Linked DNA regions of Homo sapiens: regions 2 and 3 are each linked to region 1. Evidence: promoter capture Hi-C in human tissues and cell types (Jung and others, 2019). All regions are on one chromosome and are shown on one strand. Each heading gives the region's core, a stretch centred on a gene start or on the middle of the fragment in contact. The rest is flanking DNA. Distances are from core to core; before and after follow the strand shown.

Evidence for each region. Contacts are between HindIII fragments. The study calls those that stand out against the background at their distance.
Region 2: the fragment with the promoter of NPBWR2 here is called in contact with the fragment with the promoter of PPDPF in region 1 in 3 of the 25 tissues and cell types used here (dorsolateral prefrontal cortex, lymphoblastoid cells and spleen).
Region 3: the fragment with the promoter of GID8 here is called in contact with the fragment with the promoter of PPDPF in region 1 in 1 of the 25 tissues and cell types used here (dorsolateral prefrontal cortex).

The regions. Positions count from the first base shown.
Region 1 is chr20:63,519,486-63,522,185 of GRCh38, forward strand. It overlaps PPDPF (pancreatic progenitor cell differentiation and proliferation factor), which reads left to right and starts at 1,280. Exons shown (of 4, transcript NM_024299.4): 1 at 1,280-1,409; 2 at 1,799-1,878; 3 at 2,027-2,104; 4 at 2,183-2,700. The coding sequence starts at 1,824. The coding sequence ends at 2,394. It overlaps LOC102723814 (a long non-coding RNA gene), which reads right to left and starts at 1,188. Exons shown (of 2, transcript XR_430332.4): 1 at 1-1,188. RefSeq lists enhancers at 1-413, 414-1,290 and silencers at 563-812, 873-1,422, 1,533-1,732. The HindIII fragment of the contact is 19,807 bases long and covers 1-2,700 here.
Region 2 is chr20:64,106,258-64,108,963 of GRCh38, forward strand. NPBWR2 (neuropeptides B and W receptor 2) reads right to left here and starts at 1,308. Exons shown (of 2, transcript NM_005286.4): 1 at 1,107-1,308; 2 at 1-665. The coding sequence starts at 574. RefSeq lists an enhancer at 856-1,356. The HindIII fragment of the contact is 24,186 bases long and covers 1-2,706 here.
Region 3 is chr20:62,936,873-62,939,572 of GRCh38, forward strand. GID8 (GID complex subunit 8 homolog) reads left to right here and starts at 1,275. Exons shown (of 5, transcript NM_017896.3): 1 at 1,275-1,381. It also overlaps a transcript of DIDO1 not described here. RefSeq lists silencers at 476-525, 796-845, 1,216-1,445, 1,516-1,645 and an enhancer at 1,341-2,009. The HindIII fragment of the contact is 10,021 bases long and covers 1-2,700 here.

The sequences.
Region 1 (2,700 bases), core at 30-2,529:
TCTCCCTTGGTTTACCGTTCCCTGCGCTTGGCTCGGCCATGTGCACATAGTAGGTGCTTACCACACTCGTGCAATGAACACACAGAGCGGTGCAGGGCCCAGGACAGCGCCTTCCCCACGTGCTCAGGGGGCACAAGGGCGTCCCTCCAAGTCTTGCTCAGGGGCCTCCCAGGGTCCCTGCCCAGCTGTGGGTCCTCACTGAGCACCCGGCGAGGACAGAGTACGGCATCCGTTGGCCTCGATCTCCGGAACAACACGGGCACACGGCCGTCCCAGCCAGCAACGAGAGCCACGAAACAAATCCACCCGGGCTGACTCCCGAAGCCCTCGGACTGTTCCGCCCCACGGACCTCCCGGACCCTCTCTTCCACGGGGAAGACACCGCCCAGCCAGGACCGGGTGTATAAAGAAACGGGATTTCCGTAGGGGCAGGCCGATTTCCCCTGCGGGGCCGAGGGAGGTGTGGGGAGGATTCTGCGCTGGGGGGAGGAGGAGAGGGAGGACGCCTTTCTGCCTGGGAAGGGAAAACGCGCCCCCTCCTGATTGGCATGGCGGGCCGTCCCCCGGGCCCCAGGGCCCTGCCGGGAACGCTCTGGGCTCCCCAAACATGGGGTCTCCGAGCAGTGGGGCCCAGCCTCTGCCTCCGGCGACTGGAGACTCACCTCACCCGCCCAAATCCGCCCCGCTCTCCGACTGGGCCCCGCCTCCCACTGCCCCGCCATCCGCCCACCCTTTCACCGCCCCCTGCGGGCAGCAGGCGCGTCCTGGGGCTGGGCAACCGGGGTGCAGGTTCCGGAGCTGCCAGAGCTGTGAGGGGGACTCGGGAGAGATCCAGGTTCCTCTGGCTGCGAAGTCCCTGGAGGCCGGGCCGGAGGGCTCCGCGCACGTAGCACTTTTTGGCCCGCCCGGCGCCCCCGTCGCCTCCACAAGGGCTGAAGAGGACGGGCGGGCTGGACCAGGCGGGGCTCCGAGACGCGTCCGAGACGGGGGCCTGGGCCCGGGAGAGGGGCGGGGGCTGGGCTCCCGGACCCGGGCGCGGGGCCTTTTAACCCCTGCAGACCCAGGACCGGCCGGGCCGCCCCAAGACGAACGCCGCAGGGCTGGGCTCAGCCCAAGCCAGACGGCGAGAGTCGCACCGAGGTGGAAGCTGGGGGCGCGGCCTCGCCGGGGCCAGGAAAGGGGCGGGGCCGGGTGGGGCCCGGGGAGGAGCCTGTGCGCCCCGCCCTCCGTGACGCGCCGCGGCCCCCGCGCATATAAGTGGGCGCGTCCGCGCGTGCGCACCCCGCGCGCGCCTCTCTGTCGTGGCGCGGCTTCCCGCGGTCTTCTCTGCAAATGGGCTCCGTGGCCTAGCGCCCCCGTCCCCGCCACCCGTGATCGTGCGCCGAGGCCCGCGAGGGGTCGCCGCCCAGGTGAGGGGCGCCGCGCGCGGGTGGGACGAGCAGGCCCGAGGGGCGGGGGGCGAGGGGCGGGGCTGGGCCGGGGGCTCCTCTCCTCTCCGCCTGGCGAGCGCTGGGCTCGGGGTCCCCGGCGGGCTCCTCTCGGGTCGGGCGGGTTGGGACGGCGCCCACCAGGTTCCCGACGTCTGGGCCGGGGCCCCGCGCACAAAGCGCCTTTGTTCCACCCGCTCGGCCGGTTTGGGCTGGTTGGAGCCGCCCGCGCCCCGCGCGGCGAAGGCGGTGCCGGGAGCTGGGGAGCCCCGCCTCGGTAAATAACCCAGCGCGGCGGCTCCACCCGCTGGGGAGCGCCCTTCATGACGGAAGGCCGCTGACCCGAGGGGCTCCTCCACCCCCATGCGCAGATCCCACCAGCCAGCAAGCTAAAGCATGGCGGCCATCCCCTCCAGCGGCTCGCTCGTGGCCACCCACGACTACTACCGGCGTGAGTAGCCCCTGCCCCCCATCCACGCGGATGCTCTGCTGGCGCCAGTGCCGGCCCCGTGCAGGCTGCGGAACCAGCGCTCGGCCTGAAGGCCGGTGGGCTGGGGGGCTCCGCGCCCCGCGTTGCTGACGGGACCTCTCCTCTCCAGGCCGCCTGGGTTCCACTTCCAGCAACAGCTCCTGCAGCAGTACCGAGTGCCCCGGGGAAGCCATTCCCCACCCCCCAGGTGAGTGCAGGATCGCCCCTTTCTCCCCCCGCTCCTCCAGGAGCTGGCAGCATCAAGACCCCACTTCGCTTCTCTCAGGTCTCCCCAAGGCTGACCCGGGTCATTGGTGGGCCAGCTTCTTTTTCGGGAAGTCCACCCTCCCGTTCATGGCCACGGTGTTGGAGTCCGCAGAGCACTCGGAACCTCCCCAGGCCTCCAGCAGCATGACCGCCTGTGGCCTGGCTCGGGACGCCCCGAGGAAGCAGCCCGGCGGTCAGTCCAGCACAGCCAGCGCTGGGCCCCCGTCCTGACCTGAGCGGTTACCACCAGCCCCAGGCCTGCGGAGGCGCTAGTCCACCAGAGCCCCTCCCCGCCCCTCTCCCCACTCCGCATCCCTCGCCCCCCTCCCCACCTCCCACCCCCCACCCTGTAAACTAGGCGGCTGCAGCAAGCAGACCTTCGCATCAACACAGCAGACACCAAAAACCAGTGAGAGCCCCGCTCTCTACCGCCCGGCCCCAGCACTCGCTAGCTTTCCTGACACCTGGAACTGTGCACCTGGCACCAAGCGGAAAATAAACTCCAAGCAGCCAGTAGCCCCGATGGTGTGTGCCTGA
Region 2 (2,706 bases), core at 58-2,557, 590 kb after region 1:
GCTCGTTGCTGTAGACGCCAGCGAAAGAGAAGAAGGGCAGAACCAGGACCGTGACGCCCAGCCAGACACACAGGCTGGCGACCTTCGCCCCCCGGTAGGTGCGCCAGGGCATGTGGCGGGACCTCACGGTGGCCAGCACCACCAGGTATCGGTCCACGCTCATCACGGCTAGGAAGTAGATGCTGGAGAAGATGTTGTAGTGGTCGACGGCCAGCACCAGCTTGCAGAGCAGCTCCCCGAAGGGCCAGTACTGCAGCAGGTGCTCCGCGATGTTGACGGGCAGTACCAGCGTGAAGAGCCCGTCGGCGACGGCCAGGTTCAGGATGAACACGTTGGTCACCGTCTTCATCTTGGGCGCCCTTAGGATTACAAGGATGACGGCCGTGTTGCCAGTCAGCCCCACAGCACAGATCCCGGAGTACACGGCGGGCAGGAGCACATAGAGGAACGGCAGTGGCTCGGAGAAGGTGGCATTGTGGCCAGTGCCATTGTCCTGAGAGACGTTGGCACCCATCGTGGGGAGGGAGAAGGAGCCCCTGCTGTCAAGGGGCTCTGGGTGCCCAGCGGCCTGCATTGTAGCTGGGACCGTTGACGATTTGCGCCCTGGGCAGGTGGGAGGTGCCTTGGAGTTGGGTATCTGGTTGGGGGCCTCCTTGGGCTGGATTCTAGGAAAGAAAAACAACCAGAGACTTTGAGATCCGGCCGTCTGTTAGGGCACAGCCACTCCAGGTTCTCTGGCAGAGACTGCGGCCACTTTGCCAGGTCAAGGACATGGGGCCAGAGGGAGCCTGGTGGGGTGTGTGGGGGCCTCCTCCCGCCTCTTCCTGGTGAGACTTCAGCAGATCAGTTCCCTCCTCCCGCAGAGAGCAGCTGCTGGCCACCCTCCTGGGAAGAGATGTGGATCCGTCCCTGCCCCAGCAACCCGCAGATGCACGGGCTGCGTAGAATCAAGCGGTCCCTTTGGAAACACACCTCCCAAGCTCATCTCTGGCTCCCTTGAATCTGAAGGTCCTTCCCTCAGGGGTCTTGGAGTCTGCACCCTCCCTCACACCCTCCCGAGAGATGCTGCAGACCCTGCTGGTCCAGCTACTCTTCTCTCCACTGACCTGTCCAGTGCTTCGAGTCCAGAAGTTGGTAGCCTTGGTGTGTTCCTGGTTTTGGCCAGTACAGGCAGTCGCAGGGATGGAGGGCGAGGTGTGGTCCTCACTGACAGACCTCCAGCTGAGGTTTCAGGAGTTTCAAGACCTGCCCTGCTGGCTGCCTCAGCCCCGGCTGCGAGGTTCCCAGCCTGGTGTCAGTGCTGATGCTGGTGAGGGAGGGAGGCGGATCCCCCTTGCTGACGTGGAGCCCGGAAGGCAGGCCCCACCTTCCCCTGAGCTGCAGTAGCGCCTGCAGTCGGCTGTCCCAGGGTCTCCTCAGCATTCACTTACCCAGGCAGACTCCTCAGTGGGCGGCTGAGGCACGTGTGCGCCTGTGTGTCAGGAAGGGACTCCATGCAGGGGCCTCTGGGTGTGCCCAGGTCTTCGGGCAGAGGGCACTGAAGGCATCTGTGCCTCTGTCCGGGAGTCACTGTGGGCCTGGGCACCCTTATCTGTGAACATGGGTGTCTTGGTGGGTCTCCTGCCCCACCCTGTGTGTGTACATGGTGTGTTCCTGTGTGTGTGTGCCAGTTAGGACATGTACGTGTGTGGGCCTGTGTCTGCCTGTATGGGGGTCTCTGTGGGTGAGCTCTGCGTTGTATCTGAGTGGGTCTACATGTCCTTGGCTGAGTGTGGGCATCTGGGGGGTCTGTATGCCCTCATGTGGAAGCAGAACTTGTTGGCCATAGGCAACCCACCTTCTTTTTTTGTCTTTTGCTAAAAGAGGAACTCAGCCTAGGCAAGCTGTGAAAGGCTGCAGAGAAGACGTTCTCACGCTGACACGTAACTCTCCCGCCGTCCTGCAGAGGTGGTGAGCATCACACTCTGCTCTGGGTTGGTCTTTAAGTCCTTCCCTTCTCCCTGCTTTTCTTCCTTGCTGGACGCACCCTGGCTTATCCAACCCGTGTGTGTGCAGCTCGGCCGCATCTGGACCTGCTTTGCAGGCAACGCCACAGCTGACACGAGCAGTCGCCAGTCTCAGAGCCGCTCCTCAGCGGAGACGTGTTGGGTCAGAGGGTCTGTGTTTTCTTTCCTTTCTTCTTTTTTGAGACAGGGTCTTGCCCTGTCACCCAGGCTGGGGTGCAGTGGCACTATCATGGCTCACTGCAGCCCTGACCTCCCTGGGCTCAGGTGATCCTCCCACCTCAGCCTCTCAAGTAGCTGGGACTACAGGCATGTGCCACCATGCCTGGCTAATTTTTGTGTTTTTTTTTGTAGAGACGGGGTTTCACCATGTTGCCCAGGCTGGTCTCGATCTCCTGAGCTTCAGCCTCTACCTCAGCCTCCCAAAGTGCTCAGGTTATAGCCATGACCCACCGTGCCTGGTCACTGTGTGTTTTCAGTCTGGGGAGATGTGTCTGCCCATCGAGACTGTGCCCGCTGCCTGTGGGGTTGCAAGGATGTCACCGCACACTCATGGTCGGCCTTCTTTCCTGAGAGTTGCTCTGTCAAGTCTATTGGTTAGGACAGGAGCCTGGGCAGTCGCCCTGAGTACCCTGATGTCGCCAGCCTGAGGGTACACTGTGGGTGGGCCCCGAGCTACCCTTCTATGGGCTGTGCCATGTGG
Region 3 (2,700 bases), core at 25-2,524, 580 kb before region 1:
CTAAATAAAGACCAATAACTGTTTCCCATAGGGTTATGTAGTTGCAAATGAAAAAATTACTGGCATGTACTGCCTCTGCATATGAAGCATAATTTTGTCAAGACCTTATACCTGCAGATTTAGCTCTTTCGATTAACGGAAAATGTCCAAAATCAGTCTCCTCCAACCTATTTGCCGAACTGGACTTACTGTCGCTGAGTAGACCGACCGACATAGCTTACACGTTGTTCAGCTCGCTTGTAAGCAAACACACGAAACCACCTCACCCCTGACTTCAGAAAGAAGCCGTCCCGTGAATTCCTCACAGATGAAATCAGGAGCTGCCCCTCAAGGACTCTATTTCTTCCTTCGGCTCTATCAAATATTTTAAGGTACTTCCCAGCAACGGAAACATGGGACCCTGCAATGACAGACTTCGCATTCCTCCTGAGCGGACAGGCAATAAGCAAGTAAACGCGCAAATACCCAAGTGCGGCCTCAACCCGCGCTCCTGCCGGGAGGGTCTCCAGTCACCGAGTAACCCCGGCCCTGCCCCGCGCCGCCGCCGGGACTCCGCCCCGCAAGCAAGTGGGGTCTCCTTTGTCCCGCGCGCCCTGGCCGCGTCCCGCCCTTCGGCGTAGCCCATGGGAGGCGCCCTGAGGGCAGGGCCCTTCTGATTCCCCACCTGGCCTCGAGTGAGGACGCGCTCAACAACATCTCGAGTAAAGCGGGGGAACTCGCTTCAACGCGCAGACAGCACAGCTCTCGCCCAGCCCGGTCTCGGGTCAGCCGTCTCTCCCTGGACCTCAGGGACACTAGCCCTGGAAGGCCGCCGGTCGGGAGGGGACTCCCTCCCCGTCTGAGGGGCGGCCGCGGACACCCGGCGCCTTTCCCCCGCCCCACCCCGTGCGGCCTCACGCAAACGACAGGAAAAAAGCTGGGACCTTCGCCTCCGACTCAGTGTAGACGTCGCCATCCCGGTTCCAGATTTCCGCGCTCCAACGCCTCCGCAGCAGCCATCTTGCCAGAGGGCCGACGCCTTTTGACTCTGGCGCCAACCCGTAGTGCGTGGTCGCCGCGAGGGGAGTTCTGCGCAAGTACGGAAGCTGAGGTTCCGCGCTTCCGGGAGGCCGTCCGCCCCGCCCCCTCGCGGGGGCGCTTCATTGGTCATCGGCTCGCGCTCTCGCGCTCTCTTGCTGTCGCGAGAGGTGCTGAGGGGCGGCCTCCGGTGCGCCTGCCCTCCCGCTCCCCGCCCCCGCCCCCGCCCCCGCCTCCGCCGCGGCCCCCACCTCTGCCTCCTTCTACTCGGGCGCCCCGGCGGCCGCCACCTCTCCCCAGCCCAGGAGAGGCTGCGGAGCCGCAGCCGCCCAGACCGCGCAGCGCGGGAGGCAGGTTCCGCACGGTAAGATGGCGGCGGCGGGCCCGGGCGGCCGGGCCGAGCGTCTCCCGGGGCCGGGCCGGGCGGGCAGGCGGGATGTGGCCGGGGTGCGCGCCGCCCCCGCTCTGGGGGCCTTGGAAGCGCCGGCGCTGGCAGGTGCGGAATTGGGGCGCGCAGTGAGTCCAGGCCCGGACGGCCGCCCCGCGCCGGTGCCCAGGGGGCAGTCAGGGCTCAGCCTCCAGGCGCGCGGCCTCAGGCGCTGGTGTTCTGGGGCGGTCCCGGCCAGCCTGAGGGGCGGCGGTAGCTGTCTCTGTGGAGGAGCGACGTCCGTAACGAAGTCTTTTTAATAAAATCTGCTGCTTTAAAGCAGAAACCGAGCGGGTGAGGATGTAAAGTGTGGCATGGAAAGTAGGAGTCTTCAGCACACGGGTGTTTTCTTCTGCTGAATCTTTTTATGCTGGAGTTTGAGACTACCGAGTTCTTCCTGCTAACAGGACTGGCCAGTTCTACAAAGTTGTTGCTTTTCATGGGCGCACGTAACTGCCCGGAGTGGAAGCGCTGTGAGTGCCGATCACCGAATGGGCCGAGAGAAAAGGTGCCTTTTCCTAGGGAGCTCTTAACGTTGGTCCTAGGGCCGGGCGCGGTGGCGGAGGTCGAAGTGGGCGGATCACTTGAGCCCGCGAGTTCGAGACCAGCCGTGGCAACAGCGAGACTCCCTTCTCTGCTAAAAATAAAAAAATTAGCCAGGCAGAGTGGTGCGCTCCTGTTGTCCCAGTTACTCTGGAGGCTGAGGTGGGAGGATCGCTTGAGCCCAGGAGGTCGAGGCTGCGGTGAGCCATGATCGCGCCACTGCCCTCCAGCCTGGGCGACAGAGCGAGGCTCTGTCTCAAAAAAAAAAGAAAAAGAAAATGAGTCCTTAAGTTACCATTAATTGTCGTGAATAAAAAGTTGGTCTCAGTGAGTTTTGCAGTTGACAACGAAAGATGGGTGTTCGTGTGTGACAGCGACTCCTGGTTTCTCCTCCACTTTACCTGCCGCTCCACATCAAGTTTTCTTCTGCTGGTGCCACTTTCTCTGCTTTACCTTCAAGGTTGGCATCCTCCAAGTAATGGCGATTCTCATTCCCTATCTACGCTCTTCCTATGGTCTTTGCTGAATTCTTGGCTTTAAATATCCCTGTGCCCCAGCACCGCCCCCCCCGCCCCTTATTTCACTAATTCATGTTTTCAGCTCTGAGCTCAGGATCTGTAATTCAGACACCTGCTTGATTTCTCCAGACGCATGTCTAATAGTCACGTCAAACTTGCCCTGCTTCTCAAACCTGTTCTTCTTCCAGTCCTTCC